Linked DNA regions of Homo sapiens: all the other regions are linked to region 1. The links are contacts of gene promoters, found by promoter capture Hi-C in blood cells and fetal thymus (Javierre and others, 2016). All regions are on one chromosome and are shown on one strand. Each heading gives the region's core, a stretch centred on a gene start or on the middle of the fragment in contact. The rest is flanking DNA. Distances are from core to core; before and after follow the strand shown. Region 1 holds the start of GNRH1 (gonadotropin releasing hormone 1). Region 2 overlaps DOCK5 (dedicator of cytokinesis 5). Region 3 overlaps DOCK5 (dedicator of cytokinesis 5). Region 4 overlaps DOCK5 (dedicator of cytokinesis 5).

Region 1 (7,119 bases), core at 4,196-6,695:
ATAAGGGAAAAAACTGACTTTTTTTCCATATTCTGATTTTTAACAGAAAAGCACTCATTTAATAGATGTAGGGAAACTAGATATTGCTGCCTTTTGAATGGGGTAGGGGGGTTTACCTGGTTTTATGACCAGGCATAGTATCTATTATATTTGCTTTTAAATAGGCATGATGTGGAAATACCATCTTGGTTTGAGATGCATTTGAGGATTTTAATTTATGGAAAGCACAACATATGCAATTATATTTATTGAATTCCTAGATGCAGTATGGATATTTAAATTGTTAAAACTTTATGAAAACTTGGAAAAGGTTGTTCAGGTTTATAAATAGCTTTAGTGATGCCTCCCCTCTTTAAATACCTGTCACACCGTATGAATATGGTGAGATCAGACTCCCTAAGACTCTTTTCAGGTTCATTTTTATAATGTTTACTTTTTAGGACAGAACAGTAGCTAAATTAAAGTAATATCCAGTTCTTACTGATTGAGACAGAGTGGAAAGAAAGACATCATTGTACATCACTGTCATTCCAAAGGTACAGTGTAACTCTGGATGGAGGAATAACTTACCTATCACTACAACACTTACAAATGAGAATTTCTCAGAATTTCATTCTAGGCAAGTTCCACTCAACACCAGATCAAGCAATTCTATCTATTTACACTATTAGCCTAGTTTTCTCATACAGTCATCACAAGCATAGGAAGATACTTCAAAACCAAAAAAACCAAGGTGCATCATTAATATTCATTTAATTCAAATACCAAATAGTTTACATAGGGCCAGCTTAGAAATAGATACTAAATCCAGAGCTACTGCAATCAAAGCTTATATGAGTGAATATGGTAGAGTTGCCTGCTAAAAGGCAATGTAATATAATTGCAGCTAGAACCCTACAGTGGGGAATGAGGAATTTTAAACACACATTTGATTACAGCCACCAAAAAAATAGACGTAAAAATAAAGGCATTTGGCTGGTCCAAGATGTAATTATCAATCAGTCAGCACCTGTGATTCTTTTACTTATTTTTTTGTGGTTTTTTTTTTTTAAACAAATTTTAGCCCAATTTTCTTGAGTCATTCTCTCTCTGCAGCAGCAGAGGAAGGGCCTGTACCTCCCTACCAATGACTTGGTGTCCTTATTTTCTACCCCAAGAGCAGGGATATTAGCTGTGTCCAAATGGGTTCTGAATTCTACAGACTCATCAACATGAGGCAAGGAATCATTGAAAACCACCTGTGTCTCCTTTGGGAGAATGACATATCTTTAGTATTTACGTAGCTTATTCTTCTATATCTACATATGCAAAGCTTTCCTTAACAGTAAAGGGTACATATGCATAGTGGGAGGAGATCAGACCTTTACAAGTGAAGGAAAGCAACTTCAGAAATGAATTATTTTCTTTGCTTTATTATTTTTACCAAGACAGAGAAGTATTGTATTGAGAGATAATCTATTTTCATAATCAATATGTGCCTAAATTATATTTAAATCATTTCACTCTGTACTATATTTTCAGGAATTACAGAATGTGGTATTCATTCACTTAAAGGTACCTCTGTAGAAATAACCTAAAACTGCAGAAGGATCTGAAAGATCTAAACATGGTGTGCTTAGAAACTGCAGATTTTAGATCTAATGTATACTGCATTAATAAATGATATAAAGTGTTTGTTGAAAAGGAGTTTCTTCTCTTCCTTTTGAAAATCATCACTTTCTGTATTTTGCTTACATTTCTTCAATATGTGTTGACAACCAGCCCTGTGGTTCTGGGTAGCAAAGGAAATACAGTATAACTTAATTTGTTATGGATTAGTCTTTTTGAAAGTACCATTAAAGTAAATTTATTTCTTTAAACATGATTATTTTTATCATTCTTTTAAAAATACACCATGCTAACAACACAAACCTTATGAATTCTGAACAAAAGAAAAGACTGCCTCCCCAATAATTCGTTTAATTTGTTTGTGTTAAATTCATCACTCTTTAGGTGATGAATATTACCAGTTAGCTTTATTAGACTGGATAAATAGCATGCCCCAAAACATTTTTTGCCTGATAACTAGGATAGAGAATTTTAAGGAGGGAAGAAACCGTTAAAATAGTAAAACTTCCATTAACCCTAGAGATGAAACATGTCTGTACACATAGGTAAAAATACAGCTGTTGGGATGACAGGAAAAAGGTTTTAAATCAAAATTAAACTAGCTGGATTATCTGCATTAATAAAATTTGGTACTCAACTAAGCAATACTATCTATTGTAGTCTAGTTCTTTCAACTATAGTCTCAAGGAAATTCTGGTAGAAAATGTTGTAAATTAATTATTCTTATGAAGGGTTCAATCATAAATCAAGACTTGGAATATTTTCTCCATTTCATTTTATGACTCTTATGTGTACTGTAAATCTGCCCTATGTCAACTTTAAATCATCTTTAATATATGGAAAAAACTTAGAATTGCACTAAGTAAGTCCCCAAGGAAGAATTACCTTTAAAATTAAAAGGTTCATTACTACAAAGAAAAGTGGTTACATTATTTCAGTATAAAGCACCTTATCCAAGGATTAATTCTCTGAAACCCTTTTACAACCTGATTAGACATGTCAGCAGGAGTTAACCTTAAGTGCTTCCTGCTGAGATTTTACATTAGGGCAAGAAAAGATTTTTTTCATCTGTCATTTCAGTGATATTATGAGATCATCGCTGTAATAATTTTGAGGTGTTTTGATGTTGATGAAGCAGTTTTTTCTCTAAAGCCATTCTTTCAAATTTAGAAAAAAATATGACAAATATAAAATCCAATTATTTAAACCCAATTTATTATATTTAACTTTTTGATAAACTGACCTAACCATGGAATCCTTAAATGGTTTTAAGTTTGTCATTCAATATCAAAAACTCATTAATTGCATAGTGGCTTGATAACCTATTTGGTGCTATAGAAAGTAAGACAAAACAAAGTTGACTCTTGCCTTGAGATCTGTGTGACCTAAGACAATGCTAATGGAGACTTTAAGGACAACAGCATATTGGATGAATTCATAGACCATATTTGTGATGGTTAATACTGAATATCAATTTGATTGGATCAAAGCATGCAAAGTATTGATCCTGGGTGTGTCTATAAAGGTGTCGCCAAAGGAGATTAACATTTGAGTCAGTGGGCTGGGGAAGGCAGACCCACCCTTAATCTGGGTGGGCACCATCTAATCAGCTGCCAGCAAATATAAAGCAGGCAGAAAAACGTGAAAAGTCTAGATGGGCCTAACCTCCCAGCCTACATCCTTCTCCTGTGCTGGATGCTTCCTGCCCTCGAACATTGGACTCAAAGTTCTTCAGCTTTGGGACTCAGACTGGCTTTCCTTGCTCCTCAGCTTGCGGACGGCCTACTGTGGGACCTTGGGATCGTGTGAGTTAATACTTAATAAACTCTCCTATGTGCGTGTGTTTGTGTGTGTGTGTGTGTGTGTATGTATTCTGTCCCTCTAGAGAATGCTGAGTAATACAATATTGCTGTGTTCATCTTAATAATTTCAAAACATTTTTCAAAAATTTAATCCCAACTGTTAGAAATAACCTACAAGAAATCCAGTGAGGCCTACCTACCCAGAGATAAGTGATTCACCTGACAATATGCATCACAAGTCTTAACTCTCATTTCATTAGTCCTATCCAGAGACCACATTTTCTACTTAAGCAATACTTAGAGGCACATCTCTCAGCAAACACAAACCAATTGGACAATTTAAACTAGCACTATTCAACCATAATGAACTCTGGTTGAAAAACAGTCTGTCCCTACTTGCATATTGTAGTGAGATGAGATTCCACTCTTCATGTCAGAATGGCACTTACATGAGTCAAAGTGTCTAAATGAAATAATTTAAATGGAACAAAGTCAAATACTTACATTTTATTTTTAAATTCTCCTCTATTTGCAGTTATACTTTAAAGTGTACTCCCTTCTCTATCCTATCATGAGGACTGGACAGCCTCCACAGAGATGGCTGGACAAAGCAAGGGAATTTACTTAGGTAAGACACCATTTCTCTTTACTCTGAAATCCCTGCAAATGTAGTTATTCCAGAGGAGACTGTGCAATGACTGATGGGTTTAGCATCCTACATGAGGGGAAATTGCCATTCCCAGCTGTAAAATGAACAAATATCCAGTTATTTTTTTTAGCCATCTTACAGCTTAGCTAATATAACAGGATTTACAGCCAATTATACATGAAAGTTTAATTCTGTGTCAGATAAAGCATATCTTTGATGCAGAAATAGAGGCAGCATTAGGCCTTACCTGGTTAAAAGCTTTTTGCTTTCTATTCATTCATTCGTTCATTCATTCATTCAAACCTATACTTACTGAATGCTCACTAAATGCCGGGGGTTTATTAAGAGAGATTTAAATAAGATGGGATCTTTGACTATTACAGGTTTCAGCCTAGGGGTAAATTAGGGGAAGACAACCATGTATTCAAATAAATGTAATTAAGAGTAATGGTTGTGTGTGTATTTTACATGCTTGTCCTGTGTAAATAACACGTCCACGGTTGCACCTCTGGGGTGGAACATCTATAAAATTTAGATAATGATACCCACTTTGCATGGCTATTGTAATGAATGCTCTTATACATTTGCTATTTATTAAATAACTATAATTTCTCATCTTTCTGTTCCCACTGCCCTTAAGAGTGATTTGCATATTTAACTCAATAAGCATCTACTGAAATGAGTTGATCTGTTGATGTAAGTCTGCTCAATATGGTCTTGCTCTCAGAATATGTTTCTTGCCTTTTTGATGCTTTAGAAGGCTTTCAAGGTAAGTCAAGCAGGGAACCTGGTGGGTAGATGAGGGAATTTTCAAACACACAACTGTCTGATTTAGGATCCTACATGGACTTGGTATATAGTGTCACTTACTTGTAAATCAGATTTTTAAAATTGGAAGCAACTCTGTGATCATCTAGTCCATCTAGTCTACACCCTTCCTTTTACAAATGAAGAATCCAAGAGCCAGAAGCTCCCAGACATCCTGACTCAATGTCCTATATTTGTTGTATAGCCTCCTTTGTGGAAGTTATGTATGCATTTGACTTCACTTAATCTAAGACATCTATTTTCCTTGAACTCTTGATAGGTCTGCTGGTTTCCTCAAGGGAATCCAATCTAGCTGGATTTTAATCTCTTTGAATTGTGTCCTCAGCTATAAAAGTTTTAGCTGAGGTTTTAATGGCTGCACTTAAGTAAATCTAACAGATATACCAGGGGGTGTTCCAATTACATACACCATTAAAGGGCTTTATGTGAGGATTTTTAAAAATTACCATTAAAAAAAAAAAAGCATAGTCCATTTGCAGTATAATTTACCAGCAGGAAAGATTTCAATGTCCTGGAAAAATTCCCTATAAAAAGGAAGATAGGAAAACAGAAAAGTCACAGTACTCAACCTACTTCAAGGGAAGATTGGGATCTTTTTGGCTCTCTGCCTCTAAACAGGTAAAAGGCTTTGTATTATTTCTAGCACGAGTTTTTCTTCTTTAGATTGCATGCTATTGTATGTCTACAGGGCATTTGACAGCCCAAGGGCTAAATCCAGGTGTGACGGTATCTAATGATGTCCTGTCCTTCACTGTCCTTGCCATCACCAGCCACAGAGATCCAGGCTTTGGGGACTCCCACAGCTTATCGACCAGTGTTTGATTTAGTTTTTAGCCTCTTTCCCATCAAATGAAAATTAACTTGGAGACACATTTCATTAGAAAATTAGAGGCCCCCTTGGCTAGGAAGGCATCTGGTCTGGGACTAACTACTTTGAACAGTGTTGAGTCCTCTCTCCCACAGATGGTTCAGCCAGCAGTAATGCTAGGAAGACTGAAGGATAAATAGAAAAATGTCATTAGTACCATGGGGTAGCCATGTAATGTCAAGCAATTTTATATTAGCCAGAGATTCCTAGTAGGAGCTACTTTTCTTAACAGATGACTCAGTTCTCTTTATCTCAGGAATGAAAGAGTTGAAGACCAATCCACAACAGGGGAAATGTTAAGGCAAAATGATGAACTTGATAAGGGATGAATTATGGGGTTTGGATAACCAAACAATAAAAATAAAAGTATAGACTATTTTAGTACTAAAAAGGTCCTGAACATGTGAGCTTAAGTACTCATTTTGTCCCCAGTGGCTAAGAAACTAAAGGCAAGCCAGCAAGTGTCTCTGAGTTTCAGTGTCTGTATGTAAAAACTGACTCTGACTTCCATCTTCTGCAGGGTTAGTGATACAGATGCTAGCTTTTTCACTAAAGAGGTCTTTTAGTTTATACTCAACCTTGTCTGGATCTAATTTGATTGTGCATTCATGTGCCTTAGAATGAAGCCAATTCAAAAACTCCTAGCTGGCCTTATTCTACTGACTTGGTGCGTGGAAGGCTGCTCCAGCCAGCACTGGTCCTATGGACTGCGCCCTGGAGGAAAGAGAGATGCCGAAAATTTGATTGATTCTTTCCAAGAGGTAAGTTTCTCTCAGCTTCAAAATAAGACATAGTGATTTTATTCAATTTAACTATATTAAACATTCAGGATAGCCCCAATGTCAATATTCTATGATGTTGTACCCTAGATGCTCCAGGTGAGATAAGGCACTTACAAAGTAGAAGTCCCATTCCTACTTTCAGTTCACACAGGGACTAAACAAAGAGCTGGAAAAATTCCAAAAGAATATATTAATAGCAACAAGTGTGAGACAGCACGTCATACTCTGAGTGTATGGGATTGCTAAAGGAATTAGAAACAATGGGATAGGGTCAAGGTCTGTATCAGAAGATGATTCTTTGGGATTTGGAAAAAACGTTAGAACTTCGTTTTTTTTTTCCTCATTTCATCTTTTAAACATATCTATGCTATTAGATCAGTACATTTTTATAATTTATAAATGAGTATCCTTATCAAGGATGCATGCCCTATAATTTCTTTTCACTGATAGGGGCATTTAAGCAAAGTTGGAGACTGGTAGAATACAGGAATTAGCAAACTCAAGATGATAAGATAACGTAGTAGAAAACATGCTGATTTAAATTCATATAGATTAGATTATAGGACTGGCACCAACACTAAC
Region 2 (6,476 bases), core at 2,492-4,991, 220 kb after region 1:
CACTTCTAATTCTAGTGCTCTTGCTATTTCCACAACATCTGCAGGGACATCCTTCACTGAAGTTTTGAACCCCTCAAAGTCATCCATGAGAATTGGAATCAATTTCTTCCACACTCCTACTAATATTGATATTTTGACCTCCTCCCATGAAACATCAATATTCTTAGTGGCATTTAGAATGGGGAATCCTTTCCAGAAGGTTTTTAATGTACTACACCTAGAACCATCAGCGTAATCACTATTTATGGCAGCCACCATTTCATGAAATGTATTCTTTTAAATAATCAGACTTGAAAGTCAAAATTATCCCTTGATCCATGGGCTGCAGTATTCATGTTGTGTCAGCAGGCATGAAAACATTAATCTCCTTGTCCATCTCCATCTAAGCTCTTGGGTGACCTGGTGCATTGTCAATGGGCAGTAATATTTTGAATCAAGGAATCTTCTTTTTCTCAGCTGTAGGTCTCAACAGTAGGCTTAAAATAGTCAGTAAACCATGCTGTCAACAGATGTACTGTCATCCAGACTTTGCTGTTCCATTTATAGAGCACAGGCAGAGTAGATTTAGCATAATTGTTAAGGGCCCTCAGATTTTTCAGAATGGTGAAAGAGCACTGGTTTCAATTTAAAGTCACCAGCTGCATTAGCCCCTAACAAGAGGGTCAGCCTATCCTTTGATGCCCGTCACTGACTTCTCCTCTCTAGCTATGAAAGTACTAGACAGCATCTTCTTACAATAGAAGGCTATTTCATCTACACTTAAAATATGTTGTTAGTGTAGCCACTTTCATCAATATCTTCACTAGATCTTCTGGATAACTTGCCACAGCTTCTATATCAGCACTTGCTGCCTCACCTTGCACTTCTATGCTATGGCAATGGCTTCTTTTATTAAACTTCTTTCATCAAACTTCATGAACCATTGCTTTATTGATCGACCATGAATCTTATGGTCGATCAATAAAGTGATGTGCTATATAGAAGGAGGTATGTCTGCATTCATAGAAAGCTCTGCAAAGTACCCTGAGTTGCCACATAAACTTCTTCAGTGATGCCACGGTATTGCAAGGAACAGAGACTCACTCAAATTGCCTCAGAAAAGGGATGTTTTAGACCTGGACTTGGAAAGCTGCTAAGAACAGGGGCCACTCTAGGGCTGTAGGGTCTCTCCACATCTGCTCCCCTCTCTCTATCAATCAGCTTTTTCAGTTTCCTTGTGGTTTCCATTCACAACATTGGCTTCCACATGGCTTCAGGTTGCCACCAACTCAACTCCCAAACGACATCCTTTTAGCTTTTGCCCCTGTGGCAAAACATATTGGTATTTCCTCATTCAAATTCCCAAGAGAAGGAACCTGATTGAGTACTTACTTCTTTGCGTCAAACCATATGTCATTGTCCAGGCTACGGAATGGCCTCTAGGTAGTGTGTCCATCCAGGGACAATCAGTGATGGCCACAGGAATCTTAGATGGTGTAAAACGAGGCTACCTAGGCCTTCCCTGGGTCTTCTATCCAGGCTGTGGGCAGGCAGGTACTGTAACTATTTGTCATGTAGGAACTAGCCCAGGTTTTTCACAGAATACTGGAGCAAACTTGTACTAGTTTGGAAGGGCCAACTGTTACATTTTCAGGAATTTTCAGGAATTCTGTGAGCTATCTCTTAATCCACTGCTGGTCTGAAATTGGCCACTGTGGGAGTATTTACACCACAGATATTGGTGAATGCTACAAACTCAAGTTTTTTCCTCCCACTCTACAGAGCTAGTTTACCAGCACACTATTGCAGCATGAATGGTTAAAGAGGAAGAAAAAAAATCAAGGTAAACAAGTCTCCCCATAATCTGACAAAATCTATATCATTTCCCTCTTTTCCACTTTACCCACCCTTTGCTTCAGCAAGAATGGACAACTTCCTCATTATCCACTTGCCACAAATAACTGCGTTAGGGCCAGGGCTCACGCTGTGCCAGGTCCCCAGCCTTCCCAAACCTGATGTCCATCTCTATAAAGTTCAACTACTTCCCTGAAGCTTCCTCAACTCCCTCAATTAGAATAATCTCTGCTTCTCTAAACTCCAATAACCCCAACTGGACTTTTTTTGCAACTTTTTTCATGTTCAGCCTTCCTTTCCCTGGAGTTATTTATGGCTTTATACTTGGGGTCTTTTAATTCATTATAAACTTCCCACAAACAGAATCTATGTCCACTTCTCTTAAGTGTTAGGAGAAGTATCAATTAAGTGTGCAATGGCATTATCTCTGAGTATTCCAAGTGCTAAGTGCATACCTCCTACTCAGATACCTGGTGAATCGGTGAAGATGAACACAGCATTTATTTGCACAAGTCTTCAGTAACCCATGTCTCTCTCCCCTTCCCACACCTACAATTCTAGACCTGCAAACTCATGAGTTCACCAGCTGATTTGGGCCCTGACAACTGAATCAGCAACAGCAGGATTTTCAAGGCCAGAAGGCTGCTAAAGGCATGTATCTGATGTGCATGTGAATTACTTTCACTAGATTCAAATCCCTGTAAAAGAGGAGGGAAAAATCTAGGATTAAACTACAGAGATTGAACTTTGATCTGGCAACAGTGGACTCGTATTTCAAATAACACGCAACTCCCTGTGTCTCAGTCAGCTTAGGCTGCCATAACAAAATACCACACACCATGTGGCTTAAATAACAGAAATGTGTTTTCTAACAGCTCTGGGGGCTGGAAGTCCAAGATCAAGTTACCATCATGGTCAGTTTCCGGTGAGGGCTCTCTTCCCGGCTTATAGGTGGCCACCCTCTCATTGTATCCTCACATAGCATAGAGAGAGAAAGAGAAAGACAGAAAGAGAGAGACAGAGGGAGAGAGAGTGAGAGACAGCAAGAGCGAGAGAGAGGGAGAGCGCTCTCCACATAAAAGAAGAGACCAGGCACAGGGGCTGACACCTGTAATCCAAGCATTTTGGGAGGCTGAGGTGGGAGGATTGCTTGAGGCCAGGAGTTCAAGACCAACCTGGCCAACATAATGAGACCCTGTCTGTACTTTAATTAACTTTTTAATAAAAGACATTTTTAAAAATAATTTTTTTTAAAAAAAGCACTAATCCCCTCATGAGGGCCCCACCATGAACTCATCTAAACCTAATTATCTCCCAGGACCCATCTCCAAATACCATCACACTAGGGGCTGAGGCTTCAACATAGGAATTTGTGAGGGACATAATTCAGTCCATAGCACTCTGTTAAAATCAATCTTCCTTTAAATACTTTGGGAAAGACGACTGAGAGATTTGGGGAAATCTGAGAAGTGGAAACCAGATGAAAAAGATCACAAGTTCAGCCTCAGGGAGAGAAAATTAGTTCTTCCTATTAACGTATGACTTAGCCAGTCTGAAGAGTATATGAAAGCCGCCAAGAAGTTAGAAGAAAGACTACTGGATTACCATCGGCATGTGAAGAAAATTTGGCCATAAAGTAATGGGGTTCTTTGCACCAAACCTTTGTAGACAAAGTTTCCTCAGTAAGTCTTCAGGCAGAAAGTTCAATGGCATGTCAACTTTAGATCCTAGCAGTTTTTAGTCCATTAATGTGGCCTAACAGGCATCGCTTAATTCATTTGCAGAAATTTTCAACAACTGAAAATTCATCACACTCTGAGAATCTAGAAGGTAATAGAAAATATTATCTCTGTTTTGCAGATGGAAAAACTAAGCTAAAGAGAGTCAAGCCACTTGGTCACTCCTGTAACAGAGACTGAAATACAAACCCAACTTCCTAATCCTGGGATCAATACTTCTGTTAGTTTCACTCCATGCACTATCCCCCAAAAACCTAAATGCCCCTAAAATTTTAAAAAATTTCTTGTATTAAAAAGTTAAAGTACAGACAGGGTCTCATTATGTTGTATCGACTATGAAGTCGATAATTCCTGAAGTTACTTCTATGAAGTCTATAATTCATCCAAACACATGCTATTAAAAAAATTGGCAAAGAATTCTCAGAACTGAGGCAGATAAATGAACATGGTATAAGTAACTATTTCTGCAAGAAAAACAAACAAACCCTCTAATCTTCCAAAAGTATAAAATCCTGTCACTCAAGGCTGCTGATAAAAGCAAGAAGATAAAGACATCTAAGACGAAAGAACACGTTTCATTTTAGATATTTCTATTTCCTCCATCTGTATTTGTTGAGGAGCAATTTTAGGAAGGCAGGATCACTGAGATGCTGTACTTTTCCTAAGGTTTTACAACTGTTAGCTAATGCCTCCACAACATGGGATTTTGTACCTCAAGTCCTAAAAGACATTAAACCAAAAGTAAAGAGAGGCGAAAAAAGGCAAATAAAAGAAAAAATCACTATGTCCATATGTCCTCCCTGACAGATTCCAATCTGATCTTTAAAATTGAGTCTTTTGGGCCACAAATGAGAGGCTCTCTCTTTTCCTGGTCTAAAATCTATCCCCATGCCACCACATTGTATCAGAATCGAAATGTCACCAGAGGAGAGTGATACAGGGTTTGCTTCACGGAGTGAGCTATTTGTTTTTGAAATAAGTCATGTTGTCAGAATCGGAACTGAGCAAGTATACCCATTTCTCATTCAGGAAAGAAAATATAAGACGGATTCAAAATTTCCAAGGCTCTTGGCTTAGATCACAGCTCAAACATGAAAAGAATTCTTCTGTAGCCTCAAACTATTTCTGAATTTGTGAGCTTACCAGTGGACCTCCCTGAAGCTATCAAACAATTTGAAAACAATCTTGAGCAGCAAATCTAATTCCGCCAAAGATAAACTGGATGCCACCCTCTGCCAAGCCATGTAAGGATCTTCTGAAAAATGACTCCAGTATATTCTATATGCAAGCAACTCTTTAATTCAAGAAGACATCAGCCTTCTTTGAGGCAGGCTTTCAGGCACATAAGATAGTCATTCAGGATTCTGTCATCAGTGGATTCCTATCCTCATATTCTATGATGATCTGGGTGTTAAGACCAGAAATGGCTGGCCAAGAGCTACTGGTCACACATCCATGAATTCATGACACTGGAGATGTATTTGGTAGCACTCTTATCAAGCTAAAGAAAAGGAAAGCAGCCATTATGAATCCCTGCCTACTGCTTCTATGTGTGTTTCTATAGACTCTTTATCTTACACAGTAGTCTCCTAGTGTCCCCTGTGTCACCTTCTGTGGCTTCAGGTACTCAAGGTCCAAAAATATTAAATAAAAAAATTCAAAAACAAACTGCCGGGGTATTGCAGTGCTGGTGTTCAAGTCACCCTTATTTTACTTAATCATGGCCCCAAAGTGCAAGAGTGGTAATACTGGCATATTGTGTTGATTGTTCTTTTTTATTATTAGTTATTGTTGATAACCTCTTACTGTGCCTAATTTAGAAATTCAGCTTTATCATAAATATATTTGTATAGAAGCAGCATTGTATATACAAGCTTGGGTACTATCCGTGGTTTCAAGCATGCCTTGAGGATAAGGCGGGACTACTGTGTGATCCTCACCACCATCCAGCCCAGCAAGACCCTGGAACATAAAAGGTGCTCAGTGAACATGGGCTTCCTCAGAACAGTGAGGTGGGTTAGCCACAGTAAGGGGATTCACACGCAAGGTGGCGTGACTCAAAACATTTCCGTTAGTTTGTTGTGTGTGAATTCATTCATTCATCCATTCCTCTTAGGATTCCAGGCTGTTCTAAGCCAGTGAGTGAGTACCACCCCAAAAGCACAGGATCAGAAGAAAGTAACAGTCCCATCACCCAGAGATCCCTGGGAATTCAAATATTTTCCAGGGGTGGGTGCGGTGGCTCACACCTGTAATGCCAACAGTTTGGGAGGCCGAGGCAGGTGGATCGCTTGAGGACAGGAGTTCGAGACCAGCCTGGCCAACATGGCAAAACCCTATCTCTTCTAAAAATACAAAAATTAGCTGGGGGTGGTGGTGCATGCCTGTAGTCACAGCTACTTGGGGAGGCTGAGGCAGGAGAATCGCGTGAACCCGGGAGGCAGAGATTGCAGTGAGCCACGATTGTGCCACTGCGCTCCAGCCTGGGTGACAGAGCGAGACTCTGTCTCAAAGAGAAGAAAAAAATATATATATATATGTTTTTTTCCCAGGAAGATTCTTGCAAGATAAGGCCATTTCTGGCCATAAGGCTCTAAAATCAAAAATATACTCAAATCTATTCTGAACTTTGAGGACAGGTTCTGAGCCAACCAGTATTAACTACTTGGTAATCAGCCCCACTCTGCAAACAAAGGCACCTGATTGCCAGGCTAGGGTACTGTCAGGGAGGCTGCGACTGAGCAAACTTTCAGATAGCTATCACGTACTGCCCACTGTACCAGGAAGTGTGCTAATCTTATTCCTTCCGTCTTACTTGACTTAGAGCCTTATATGACTTCACAAGGTAAAGAGTAATAAAAGTTAGGAGACTTGGACTTCAAAAATCCCAGCCACAAGCAACTA
Region 3 (6,597 bases), core at 468-2,967, 150 kb after region 1:
GTAACAAGACTGTTCTCATTTAACTATGAGTTTTCTTATCCTGTCACTTCTTGTGGAATCAAGAAAATTACGTTCCAAAGAAATGATGTTGCCCTATTATCAGTTACAGACCAATGTTGCATACTACCTATGAATTTCCAGTGGTTTGCTTTGTGAAGAGGCTTAAATTCCCATCTGTGATGCATTTTGGAATGAGCGGGTTTGAGGCCAACGCTCATTTGAAAGATAATACTCAAAAAACGAAAGGACAAGAGTCATCGGCTCCCACACAAAGTAAAACATGTGAACATAATTTTAGCAGTGTTAATAAGGAGCAATTATCCACAAGTCACTGCAACAAAAACGCCTGTGTCATAACATCCTCTCCTCCCTGAGGCACGGGAGCAAGTGGCACATACTTGCCTGGGAACCAGTTTCATCAATTCTGCTGTTGTATGGGTCCAAAGATGAGGAGGAATATCTGTTACCAATTTCACTGCCTTTTGGAGTTTTGGATAACAGATCTATACCGTGACATTTACACTTTTTAAACAGTTAATTTTAAGTGGAATTGCCATTCTAATTTTGTGAAATCAAGTTCATACAAAATAAAGCTTGCCCATCATAATTAAAAAAAGAAAAGAAAACAAAAGAAAAGAAATGATGGTGCTGAACTACAACTGGGAATGCTCTTTCTAGCTGTGAGGCTGCATGGTTCTGTGACCCAGCTGTCCACTCTCTCCTCGGCCCCACTCTCCTCTCCATCAGCCCCAGGATTCCAGTCCTACCCCAGCCTCTCCGTACTGCCTCCAGAATTCTCCTGTCCAGAGACTCACCATCACCTAAGTCACCTCTCTCTCTCCCACTTAGACTAAGTAGCTCACTCTTCTTAGCTGTCACAGAGGCAGTACTTCCCAGGACAAATGAGGTGGGCAAGATGAGGTGGGCAAGAAATATGAATACCCAAAATATAGCAGATCTTATCTTCAGGGCACATTTGCATACATTACCTCATTCGAATCTCATGACAAGCTCATGATCAAAGTAGGGTCAGATTGTTTCCCCTAATATGCTGTGAAAAACCCAGGATCCACTTAAGTTTAAGTGATTCATCCAAGGCTCAGAGCTGGTAAATGCAGGCTGTTGCTTAATCATCTCTCTCTCAAGGATCCTGAATTGGGGGCTTCTCAGATCTTATCAGTCAGAGTCCCAAATGTTCATGTGTGCAAACATACACACACGCACACACACACAATCAGTGAACAGATAATAAATGTAATGTAGAGGCAAAAGCCCTCAGTTTTTGCTACTTCTGTGTTTAGTATTCTGGAGAAGTAATGGAAAGGAGGAACAATTATAGAAAGAGAAGACAGAGGAAGGAATTGTATGAGTGAAAAGTTTTTCTTCATTTCTCTCTCATAGGAGAAGTAGAACTGATGAGATGAGAGAAATTTTTTAATTTTATTTTTTTTTGAGAGAGAGTCTTGCTCTGTCACCCAGGTTAGAGTGTAGTGGTATGATCTCAGCTCACTGCGAGCTCTGCCTCCTGGGCTCGAGTGATTCTCCTGCCTCAGCCTCCCCAGTAGCTGGGATTACAGGCACCCACCACCAAGCCCAGCTAACTTTTGTATTTTTAGTAGAGATGGGGGTTTTACCATGTTGGCCAGGCTGGTTTCGAACTCCTGACCTCAAATGATCTGCCCACCTCGGTCTCCCAAAGTGCTGGGATTACAGGCGTGAGCCACCACGCCTGGCCTGAGATGAGAGAACTATTAACGTACATAAGGCATTAATGCCTAAAGATTATCATTAATGATAATGTTACATCTTCATCATTTTTGGGGAATCTTCCTAGCTTGGAACTTACCCCAGGTCTTCCACAGTTGCCTCTTTCAAATGGATATATGTTTCAGGGAAAATGCCCTACAGAGAAAAGAATTTTGGTTATATGGCCATAAAAACAAAACAAAAACCAAACAAAAACACCTCAGCCCAAAGTAAAGAGAATAAATGGGAACACCCAGGCAATAGCTAAACTCCTGAGATCAGGTTGGCAGGACACCACTTACGTTGACTGGCTACCTCCACAAAAGCATGGTGGAAACATCAAAAAGGTAGAAATTAAAATTTGGGTTCAGAGAGCATAGGATATTTTGTGAATGAAGAGGCAAACATGCTGTGTCAGCTCAGAGATAACATAATGGGAAGGAGTGTAATTGTGAACTCCTAAACCCCTCAGATGCTACTTGCCATGAGATGCTTCCCATAAGTTTCACATAAGGGGTGACATGGAAACTATGCAGTACTCAGTAGCCCATAAAATAAGTCATCCCTCAGAATATGCAAGGGGTTGGTTCCAGAAACCTCCTTCCCACAAAGCATATACCCAAATCCACACATACTCAAGTATGGCACGCAGCCCTGCACAACCCGCATATACTTTTACACAGGTTTCATGTCCCAAGAATATTGTAATTTTGATTTGCATTTGGCTAAAAAAAAAAAATCCATGTGGAAGTGCTGCAGAGTTCAAACTCATATTTTTCACGGGTCAACTACATAGTGATTTTTCTAAAGTAGTTCCTCTCAGCACTCCCACTTAAACCAAATGCACTCAAAATCAACGGGTGTTAGTTACCTGGTTATTTTCAGCACCTCACAGTGTCAAACTGCTCTCCATTCTATATCCCTAAGAGGCAGTTCTACATCAGTATTGTAACACTGCCCATGGGGAAGACTTAGGCCTGGAAAGACCTAAGAGAAAGAGGAGAAACTGGTGGATAGAAATCAGAGAACAGAGGACCAGATCTAACCAACAGGAAGCAAGTCCCAGATGTGAGTGTTATGTGTACCAAAGCTTCTGCTGTTTACTGTGTGATATGCTCACACACAGAGGAGATGTCATCCGGAGACAGTGATGCTGATCTGTTTCATGGTATCTTACATGGAGCTTATACCTGGCACTGTTGGCTAACTGCTCCCAGCCCTATTCCTGGAAGAGTTGGTGTGAACTCCATGAACATGACATGTCAGGGGTGGCTGATCATAAAGGTGGGAGGGGATGTCCCAGTGCCCGGAGGCATATATACCCACTGATCCTTACTCCACTCAGACAGGAAACCAGTGAACATTGACAGGGTTGTTCTTGTGTCCAGTTGCATGTGCTATATTTGTCTGTACAACACTCTGCTTTCTCTCTTTTAATCCGTTGCCAATAAAACAGGAAACAGCAAGAACATTTGAGATTAAACTGCCCCTAGCATTGGTGATGACAGAGTGGATCCTGCATGTGCTTCCCCACCAGACACAAAGCCCCAAATAAAAAGTACATCCCTTCTCCTCCTCGCTTTGAGACGGGGGCAGGCGTGGGGAATATGAGTGTGAATTCTAATCCCGTTACTGATGAGACCAAGAACACACACAGACACAAGGTGACAATGACCTCTTTCATTATGGAGGTGGGATTCAGAACCATTTTGGAAAACTGATCAAATAATTGAAAACAAAAATTAAATGTGTGTCTACTGTGGGGCACAGTAGACAGGACACTTTCTCAATGCGCCACCCCTCAGGTCAGGTGAGTTTGGCCATGGAATTCTATCAGTATAAAACATACACGCATAGGCACACCATCGAAGTGAAAAAGAAGGAGATAAGTCTTCTGACTATTTATTCATTCATGCGTTCATTCATTTATTCATTCTTTGAGACAGAGTCTTGCTCTGTTGCCCAGACTGGAGTACAGTCGCACAATTTCGGCTCACTGCAACCTCCGCCCTCCGGGCTCAAGCAGTTCTCCTGCCTCAGCATCCCAAGTAGCTGGGATTACAGGTATGCACCACCATGCCCGGCTAATTTTTGTATTTTTAGTAGAGACAGGATTTCACCATATTGGCCAGGCCAGGCTGGTCTTCAACTCTTAACCTCAAGTGATCAGCTCACCTCAGCCTCCCAAAGTGCTGGGATTACAGGTATGAGCCATGTGCCTGGTCTATTTAATTTTTTTAATGATCAAAACAGGGAACTGTCCTTTGCAGTGCCAGGCATGCAGCAGGCACTGAGTAAACATCTGATGAATATAGCAATGAGAAAGGAGGGTGTTCAGTTCAAAAACTGCGTGTGATTCCTCTGGGGCCTGATTTCTGCAGTTCGGAAGCTCTAGGCCTGTCCCTAGGAGGCCTAAGGAACTCTGGGTGTTTCTTCTGCCTGCTGTGCCGCTGTGCCACTGTGCCACTGCGCCACGGCAAATGATTTGCTGACTATCATCTCTGTGGGGAACTAAACTGGGATGTTGGGAACTAACCTTGAAGACATTACACTAAGTGAAATAAGCCAGTCACAAAAGGACAAATACTGTACGGCTCCACTTACACCTGGAGTAGTCAAATTCATAAAGACAGAAAGTACAATGGGGGTTCTGAGGGGCTTGCGGGGGATAGGGAACAATAGGAAGTTAGTATCTAAAGGGGACAGAATTTTAGTTTGGAAAGATGAAAGACTTCTGGAGATGGATGGTGTTGATGGTTGCACAACAATGAGAATGTACTTAGTGCCACTGGAAAGTACACTTACAAATGGTTAAGATGGTAAATTTTATGTTATATATATTTTTACCACAATAAAAAAAGTCCAAAACTCATAAAAAAGCAGGAGTGGGGTTGCGGAGGCGCTGGGCACGGATAAACTGTTTAGTTACAAGGATCCAATTCTGGAAGTCAAAAGTAAAATGTAACACTGCTACTACAAAGGAACATCCCTGCTGAAGGTTTTTGAAATCAGAAGGTAAAGGACCAATTAAAATTTTCATGCATTCACAATCTGGTGACTAGTCGCTCCTAATAAGTGGAAAACATTCAAGATAGAAGTATTCAGAAACATAAATGCAGAGTGATGAATCTTGTGACATCTAAGCAGATCATAAGCAGACAATTTACACTGGATGTTCAGACATGATGATTTTCATATTAGGAGAATATTTGAGGCAAGGCACAGTGGATCATGCTTGTAATCCCAGCACTTTAGGAAGCCAAGACAAGAGGATCGCTTGAGCCCAGAAGTTCAAGACCAGCCTGGGCAACAAACTGAGACACCGTCTCTACAAAAATTTAAAAAATTAGCACAGCATGGTGGCACATGCCAATGGTCCCAGCTACACGGGAGGCTGAGGCAGGAGGATTGCTTGAGCCCAGAAGGTCAAGGCTGCAGTGAACTGTGATCACGCCACTGTACTCCAGCCTGGGCAACAGACTGAGATCCTGTCTCAAATATGTATGTATGTATGTATATATGTATGTATGTATTAGTTATATAGCATGTATTTGTTATACAGTATGTGTGTATTTGTTACATAGTATGTGTGTATTTGTCATCAGTAGGCTTCACCTTTCCATGATGACACTTGGCCATTTACAGTCATAGAATTGCTCTGGCAAATCTGATGCTTATAGAATGACTCCTATGCCATGATGACACACAGAAAGTCAGAGTAAACCTAGGTCATGTGTTTCTGATTTACAGCCTGTCTCTCAGTTCTGCTTCTCCTTCCTCATTGTAACCCACTCACTTGAGTAGAAAAATAAACTAATGATTTTCTAGATGTTGCCCTTATCCACACTCCCACAATTCCACCAGGATCAATAATCAGTTTCGGAAAAGCGCTTGGCTTCTTCAATTTGTAAAACCACTAGCTCCTTTTATCATCAACTAGCTCCTTTTATCATCACTCTAAATGGCTGGGTCAGCTTATAAATGACACCAAGAATTTCCATTAAAACAACAGGCCTTTCAAGTAGCTCTTCCCCTTAAAGACGGAGAAATGAGGGACACAGCACAGGAGAGCGTTTCTAATGAGCTGATCTCTTAATGACGGGGTGTCAAAAGCAGAGCAGAATTCATGGCAACTGAATTTGATTTGCCTGTATTTTCCCTGAATCTCTCCACAAGAAGGATATTTCGGCTTAAAACAATCATCAAATAAATGCATGTCCCTTGTCTGTGTCATCATTTCATTGAATTAGAAAGTTTTTCTTTACTTACCAAGAGAACAAAGAGAAACTCTTACCGAAAGATTTCTTCTGAAGGGTGAGATTTTAAGCTTAAAGGTTTTAAGCACTCTTTAATGAACACAAAAAAATTTAAAAAAAATCCAGAATTTATCATTTAGATCCTGGGGGAACCCTATCTATCTACTGTTCAAAGCCAACAACAATGGCACTATTAGCTAGACTGATTTTTATATACACAAGGCCCTCCATATCATGGGTTCAACCAACTGATGATTAAAAATATAGAAAAAAAAAGTAAGCAGAGGTTTATTTCCTTGTCATTATTCCCTAAACAATACGGTATAATAACTACTTACATAGCATTTACATTGTATTAGGTATTATAAATAATCTAGACATGATTTAAAGTACACGGGAGGAAATGCAGAGGTTATATGCAAATACTATGCCATTTTATATCAGAGACTTGAGCATCCATGGATTTCGGTATTGTGGGGGTCCTGGAACCAATTGCCTGTGGAAATGAGGAAATGACTATATTAAAAAATCATAGGATACTTTAGAAAGCAAGGTCTGCCATGTTCAAAAGGATCCTTACATACTGTAGTCTATG
Region 4 (7,209 bases), core at 4,644-7,143, 170 kb after region 1:
ATATAGTTGGAATCATGTGGATTGACTCTTTTTACTTAGTAACATGCATATCTATGTCTTTTTATGGCTTGATAACTCATTTCTTTTTAGCGCTGAATGATACTCCATTGTCTGGATGTAACACTGTGTTTATCCATTCACCTACTGAAGAACATCTTGTTTACTCCCACATTTTGGCAATTATGAATAAAGCTGCTACAAACATCTATGTGCATGCTTTTGTGTGGGTGTAAGTTTTCAACTCCTTTGGGTAAATACCAAGGACAGAAATTGCTGCATTGTGTGATGAGAGTGTGTTTAGCTTTCTAAGACACTAACAAACTGTCTCCCAAAGTGGCTGTACCATTTTGCATTCCCATCAGCAATGAATGAGAGTTCCTGTTGCTCCACATCCTTGGCAGCATTTGGTGTTGTCAGTATTCTGGAGTTTGGCCATTTTAATAGGTGCACAGTAGTATCTCATTACTTTAATTTTCAATTCTCTAATGATATATGATGCTGAATATCTTTTCACACACTTACATGCCATATGGATATATATCTTCCTTAGCGAGGTTTCTGTGAAGGTCTTTGCCCATGTTTTAAGTGGGTTGTTTTCTTATTGTTGGATTTTAAAGCTCTTTATACGTTTTAGATAATAGTCCTTTATCAAATGTTTTTTTTTTTTGTTTTGTTTTGTTTTTTTTTGAGACAAAGTCTTGCTTTGTCGCCAGGCTGGAGTGCAGTGGCACAATCTCGGCTCACTGCAACCTCTGCCTCCCAGGTTCAAGCAATTCTCCTGCCTCAGCCTCTCAAGTAGCTGGGATTACAGCTGGCCACCACCACGCCCGGCTAATTTTTAGCATTTTTAGTAGAGACGGGGTTTCACCATGTTGGCCAGGATGGTCTCTATCTCTTGACCTCGTGATCTGCCCACCTCGGCCTCCCAAAATGCTGAGATTACAGGTGTGAGCCACTGGGCCCACCCTCAAATTTCTCTTTTACAAAATTTTCTTCCATACTGTGGCTTAACTTCTCATTCTCTTGACATTATCTTTTGCAGAGCAGAAGTTTTAAATTTTAATAAAGTCCAGTTTATCACTTATTTCTTTCATATAACTGTGTTTTCAGTGTTATATCTAAAAAGTTACCCCCATATCAAAAGTCATTTACATTTCTCCATGTTATTATATTCTAAGAGTTTTACACCTTTATATTTTACATTTAGGTCTTGAATTTATTTTGACTTATTTTTTGTCAAGGGTGAAAGGTCTGTGTCTAAATTATTATTTCGGCATGTGGTTGTCAGGTTGTTCCAGCACGATTTGTTAAAAAGAATATCTTTTCTCTATTGTATTGCCTTTGTTCTTTGTCAAAGGTCAGCTGACTATATTTGTGTGGGTCTATTTGTGAGCTCTCTGTTCTGTTCAGTAGATTTGTTTGTCTAGTGTTCTGCCAATACCACAGTCTTGATTACTATAGCTTTATAGTAAGTTGTGAAATCAGGTAGTGTCAGTCCTCCAACTTTGTTCTTCAACTTCATGTTGGTTGTTCTGAGTCCTCTGCCTCTCCACATAACTTTAGAATCCATCTGTCGATATCCACAAAATAACTGTCTGGGATTTTAATTGGGATTGCTTTGAATCTATAAATCAACTTCAGAAGAACTGACATTTTGACATTGAGTCTCCCTACCCATGAACATGGGATAGCTTCCATTTATTTAGTATTTCAAATTCTTTCATCAATATATGCTTTTAAAGATAATAACTGACTCTTATATTACTATGGATGAAGCAGAGGCATATATTTAACTTTTTTTTCCAGATATAAGCAAGAGGAGAAGTATGATCATTTGCCCTCAATCAATTTTAAACTTTCCTCTAAGGCTTTCTCCTTACACTAATCCTTAATGAGGCTTAGCCAGCCCAACCGTGATGTTATATGGACATAACCTAACGCATTTAAAAAAAATAAAGGTTATGCACCAAATAATGTGAATGCTACAGCAATCAGGGGTGTGAAGACAGCTGTGAGCAGGTATGTGTGTGCATGGGATGGAAGGACTCTGCTCCCATTTCAACCACTTGATCCAACCAAGATCTGTTGCGGTCCAAAATCTGTGGAATGCTAAAAGCTCCTGGGAATATTCCTCCAGAGTACTCCCAAAAGCATATTTGCTTTCAGACTGAGTTTGCCTCCTTAGGTGCATAGGAGCTGCCCAAATAGGTAATTCCAAGTACTTACTCATGACAGAATAACTGAATGAAGGTACCACTCAGGAAACAGTTGTGAACTCTACAGTAGAAAATTCCATATATGCCTATACCTGAATCACGTACATTTTTAAAGATGGAATTTTAGGGTTGGTGGTTCATACCTGCAATCCCAGCACTTTGGGAGGCCAAGGTGGGCAGATCACATGAGGCCAGGAGTTTGAGGCCAGCCTAGCCAACATGGCAAAACCACGTCTCTACTAAAAATTAGCTGGGCGTGGTGGCACGTGCCTGTAATCCCAGCTACTCGGGAGGCTGAGGCATGAAAATCACTTGAACCCAGCAGGCAGAGGTTGTAGTGAGCCAAGATTGCACCACTGCACTCCAGCCTGGGAGACAGGGTAACACTCTGTCTCAAAAAAATAAATAAAGATGGAATTTTAGAATTTTAGAAGCATACTGAAACATACCTGAAAAGGAAAAATAGAAGGCATTCGCTTTTTTTAAAGATTAAATCCGAGATAAGACTTTTCACTGACACTCCTTTTAATTAATTTCTCTGGTAAACACCCTCCTACTGCCACACATATCTTTTGAAAAACACATCTCAGGAACATATGTCACCAGCAGTAGTAGCTCACAAGCTGTACTTAAGGTAAAGGTCAAACAGATGTGGGAAGTGACCAAGCACACTCAACAAAATGCCACATGGCCTTATCTGCTTTCCAGGCTAATGCCAAAATATTTGCACGCAGCGTCATAAAATCCAAGCTGTTAGGCTCACTGCCATTTATGTATGAGAAAGGCAGTATTTCTATACCTAGATCGTGGAGACTATATAGATTTTGAATTACAATAAACTTTCAATTATTTTAATTAGCGGGTAACAAAAGTAAACGGAAGTTACAAATACCTTGGACACCCCTATTGAAGCTTATATCCAGTAAACTTTTACACATTCTATTAAGAACTGATTTTTAACAGCAATTTTGAATCTTTTGTCTCTCTCTTGGCTTCTGACCACTGTGCATGGATGACCAAGTAGAGAAAGAAACAAGTAGAAAGGAGGAACAATAAAGAGATTTCAGTGTTACAGAATTAATTGTCATAGAGCATAACAGAATGTGACAATCAGACAGACATTCTCAAAACGTTAGATACCATACTGTATCATAATCCAATGCAGGGTTCCTATTACCACATCTCTAAAGGATGATGATTAAGCCTCTGTTTGAAAAAAATCTTTTAAAAGCACTCTTTTTTTTTTTTTTTTGAGATAGAGTCTTGCTGTGTCACCCAGGTTGGAGTGCAATGGCACGCGTGATCTCAGCTCACTGCAACCTCTGCCTCCCGGGTTCAAGCGATTCTTGTGCCTCAGTCTCCTAAGTAGCTGGGATTATGGGTGCACACCACCATGCCCGGCTAATTTTTGTATCTTTAGTAGAGACAGGGTTTTGCCATGTTGGCCAGACTGGTCTCAAACTCCTGGCCTCATGTGATCTGCCCGCCTCAGCCTCCTAAAGTACTGGGATTGCAGGCATGAGCTACCGCACCCAGCCCACTCTCTTCTTTTTTATATCTCTGTTAGAAAGTTTTGGCAAACATGCAGACAAAATTCATTGCCATGTAACTTACCTGTCATAACACTGCCCACTGTCCCTACTCACAAAGGCCTGCTTTATAAAAATGAGATTCAAAACACATACAGCTCAAGTCTTAATACATTTTTATTCCTTTTCATATTAGAGGGAAGTAGATTTTTTGATTAAAGTGCATTCAAAAACTAGACTTCTTCTATATAGAAGAAATAACATGGGTATTCTGGGGAACTCCTGTACGTATACAAACCCTTCTTTTTGTTTCTTTTAACTTTTCAGGTTTGCCTGTTTCCTCTGGTTCCAGTCCAAGCATTTGTGCTATCCTTCGAGTCTTTACAAATTGCCCTGAAATAATATGTGCTGTGCCTGCCTCTGTACAGTTCAGCTCACCTTTGAGACATTTCGTTGTGTTTGTTCCAACAGCGGTCAATTGTGTTGTATTTACCCCAGAAATCACTGCTAACACCAGCATACCAGCCGCCCTTTCTCGTGAGCTTGTGAGTGGTTTACGGAGCAGAAAAAGAGTTAATCGATGGATATGAATTAAACACAGGAAACCAGCACTAGAGGAACCTCAGACTCCAGGCCTAAAACCACTTGTGACTGGAGTGACGTTAATCACAGGAGAGGGGAGCTCCATGGTAACAGGATGCTGAAACCTGACACATACAAGGTACTATGCACTTTTCAAAGCACTTACATTTGATCACTCTTGACTCAAAAAGTGACTCCAATTTAGATGAAATGTCCTTGTCACAAAGACAGCTGCAATATCTTGCCCAGGGACAGTCAATCTAGACAAGGACAAAACTACCAACCTACAATAGTCTTCCGTCTCCCTCTCCATCGCTGTCCTCCACCTCTGGCCTCTGCAATACCACCCTCTTCTCCCCATAGCATTTGTAAGCACATATCTGAATTGTTTTGTTTACTTACTTTGTTTACTTGGTTTTGTCTATCCCTCCAATGTAAACCCTATGAGAGCAGGAACTTGCATTTTGTCACTTAAGAGACCACAGAGTACCCAGAACATCTCTCATGCTCAATAAATGTACTTGGCACATACTTGGTGCTCAGCAAATAATGTTGAATGAATAAATGACCTCACGGCCGGGCATCTCCAGAAGTCAGTGCACTTTCTGCCATGGATCTGGGGTGGAAAGGAACGTTCACAGTAATAAACAGCTACCTCGCTGCCAAATACATTCCACAGTAAAAGAAGCAAAGACACAAAAATGACTGTGGGCAAGCCAGTGCCAAAGATGAAGAAAGGCAAGAACGCTCGCTTCAGTCCTTAAGGAATTCTGTTTCCTGATAAAGTCTCTAAAGACAAATAATTCCTGGAGACCTGTAACGGATGAGCAGTAGATAGCTTCTCAGTCAGTTCTGCTTCTTTCCTTCATTTAGCAACAAATGAAGTTCAGGGGCAAGGCCAGAGAGTCAAATGAGTGAAAAAAGATGATGGATAGAAGCTCGTTCATCTGGACTCTGGTCGCCTGTTTTGGAGCCAAAGCTCAATCAGTCTGGCAGTTCCTCAAAATATTAAACATTGAGTTACCCTATGACCCAGCAATTCCACTCCTAGGTACCTACCCAAGAGAGATGAAAACATATGTCCACATAAAAACTTGCACGCAAATGTTTGCAGCAGTATTATTCACAGTAGCTGAAACATCTAAACGACCCAAATGTCCAACTGATGAATGAATAAAATATAATGTACCTACATAATACATATTACTCAGCAATGAAAAGAGATGAAGTTGGGCCAGGTGCAGTGGCTCATGCCTATAATCCCAACACACTGGGACACTTGGCCCTTGGGAGGCCAAGGCAGGAGAACTGCCTGAGCCCAGGATTTCAAGACCAACCTCAGTAACATAGCGAGACCCTGTCTCTACAAAGAATAAAAATTTAGCTGGGTGTAGCGGTGTGCACCTATAGTCCCAGCTACCTGGGAGGCTGGAGTAGGAGGATTCCTTGAGCCCAGGAGGTCAAGGCTGCAGTGAGCCGTGATCATGCCACTGCACTCCAGCCTGACCAACAGAGCAAGAGAGAGGGCGAGAGAGATGAAGTCCTGATGCCAAATGAAGGCAGCCAGTCACAAAAGACCACATATTATGTGATTCCACTTACATGAAATGAATTTGAAGCTGCCTAGAGCCAGGGGAGGCATGACTACCGATGGGTACAGAGCTTCTTTATGGGATGATGAAAGTGTTCTGAAAGTAGATAGTGATGATATTTGCCCAACCCTCTGCATTAGTAAATATCCATTGAATTGTATACTTTAAATAAGTAAATTGATTGGTATTTGAATTATATCTCAAGAAAGCTGTTATTAAAAACAAACAAAAAAACCCACAAGGCCAGGCACGATGGCTCACACCTGTAATCCCTATACTCTGGGAGGCCGAGGTGGAAGGATCGCTAAGGGCCGGGAGTTCCAGACCAGCTAGGGCAACACAGCAAGGCTTCACCTCTCCTAAAAAATTAAAAACATTAGCTAGGCATGGTGGCATGTACCAGTAGTCTCAACTACTCAAGAGGCTGAAGCAGGAGCATCCGTTGAGTCCAAAAGGCCAAGGTTACAGTGAGCTGTTATTATGCCACTGCATTCCAGCCTGGGGGACAGCAAGACCCTGTCTCTAAAAAAAAGATAAATAAAATAAAAACAAAAACTTCAGCAATGACTAAATCCTCCTATAATTGCAGAGGACCAAAAAACATTAGCACCCCCTGTATTTCCCTCATAGAGAAGGAACAGCACCTCTGCCTTGTAATACCCAGGGTTTTGTGGAGGTGACCCCTGACCCCCTTACTCTCTACACCAGCTTGCCTTGGTCTCCTATTTTACCTTCATCATTCAATAGATTGTTGCTGAGCACCTGCCGTATACCAGGAGCTAGGGAGGCACAGGCTCTGCAGATGAAGGAGGAACAGGCTTTGCCTTCAAGGAGCCAATACTTTCTGAAATTTTTCAGCCAACCACACGGCAGGAAACAGAAAAAGGAGAATCAAAAATAGTATTCTGTCCCGGGCGGTGGGCAGAAAAAATGTTTCATGTCTGGGTGGATTCATGTCCACGCTGGAAAAACACACACAGATCTGGTATGCAGACATCTCGAGGGCAGGGTGGGGCAGAGTGCAGAGGGAGCGCCCCAAAGTCAGCTCCGACAGGAAGCTGGAAGACACGAATCCCAGGGCCACAATACAGTGCCAGTGTCACCCTTCAGTTCCACCCGGCAGGACTGTCGGTGTTTTCATTGTGTTTATTTTTCTAAAGTTAAGAGGGACTAGGAGAAGAGGGGTAGAAGACAAGTGATTACTCAGCATTCCCATCGCGTTTCATGTTTGCAAAGCACTCCGGCCCTTGCCTCGAGCTGCCTTAAATAATAAAGGAATTTGAGAATCAA

What was found. The method cuts DNA at HindIII sites, captures the fragments that hold promoters and counts their contacts. A CHiCAGO score of 5 or more calls a contact.
Region 2: a fragment that was not itself captured here is called in contact with the fragment with the promoter of GNRH1 in region 1 in 1 of 17 cell types (neutrophils); the score reaches 7.8 in neutrophils.
Region 3: a fragment that was not itself captured here is called in contact with the fragment with the promoter of GNRH1 in region 1 in 1 of 17 cell types (neutrophils); the score reaches 6.1 in neutrophils.
Region 4: a contact is called between a fragment that was not itself captured here and the fragment with the promoter of GNRH1 in region 1, in 1 of 17 cell types (neutrophils). The highest score is 6.7, in neutrophils.

Annotation. Positions count from the first base shown.
Region 1 is chr8:25,422,587-25,429,705 of GRCh38, reverse strand. It overlaps GNRH1 (gonadotropin releasing hormone 1), which reads left to right and starts at 5,445. Exons shown (of 4, transcript NM_001083111.2): 1 at 5,445-5,505; 2 at 6,375-6,516. The coding sequence starts at 6,376. It overlaps KCTD9 (potassium channel tetramerization domain containing 9), which reads left to right. Exons shown (of 12, transcript NM_017634.4): 12 at 1-1,859. The HindIII fragment of the contact is 12,746 bases long and covers 4,320-7,119 here.
Region 2 is chr8:25,201,641-25,208,116 of GRCh38, reverse strand. All of the region lies in intron 1 of DOCK5 (dedicator of cytokinesis 5), which reads right to left. Among named protein-coding and RNA genes, the nearest start is that of DOCK5, 20 kb to the right of the region's middle. The HindIII fragment of the contact is 3,415 bases long and covers 2,034-5,448 here.
Region 3 is chr8:25,270,691-25,277,287 of GRCh38, reverse strand. DOCK5 (dedicator of cytokinesis 5) reads right to left here. Exons shown (of 52, transcript NM_024940.8): 4 at 1,847-1,902. It also overlaps the pseudogene LOC124901864. Among named protein-coding and RNA genes, the nearest start is that of MIR6876, 71 kb to the left of the region's middle. The HindIII fragment of the contact is 2,243 bases long and covers 596-2,838 here.
Region 4 is chr8:25,248,252-25,255,460 of GRCh38, reverse strand. The region is part of intron 2 of DOCK5 (dedicator of cytokinesis 5); the gene reads right to left. Among named protein-coding and RNA genes, the nearest start is that of DOCK5, 67 kb to the right of the region's middle. The HindIII fragment of the contact is 5,525 bases long and covers 3,131-7,209 here.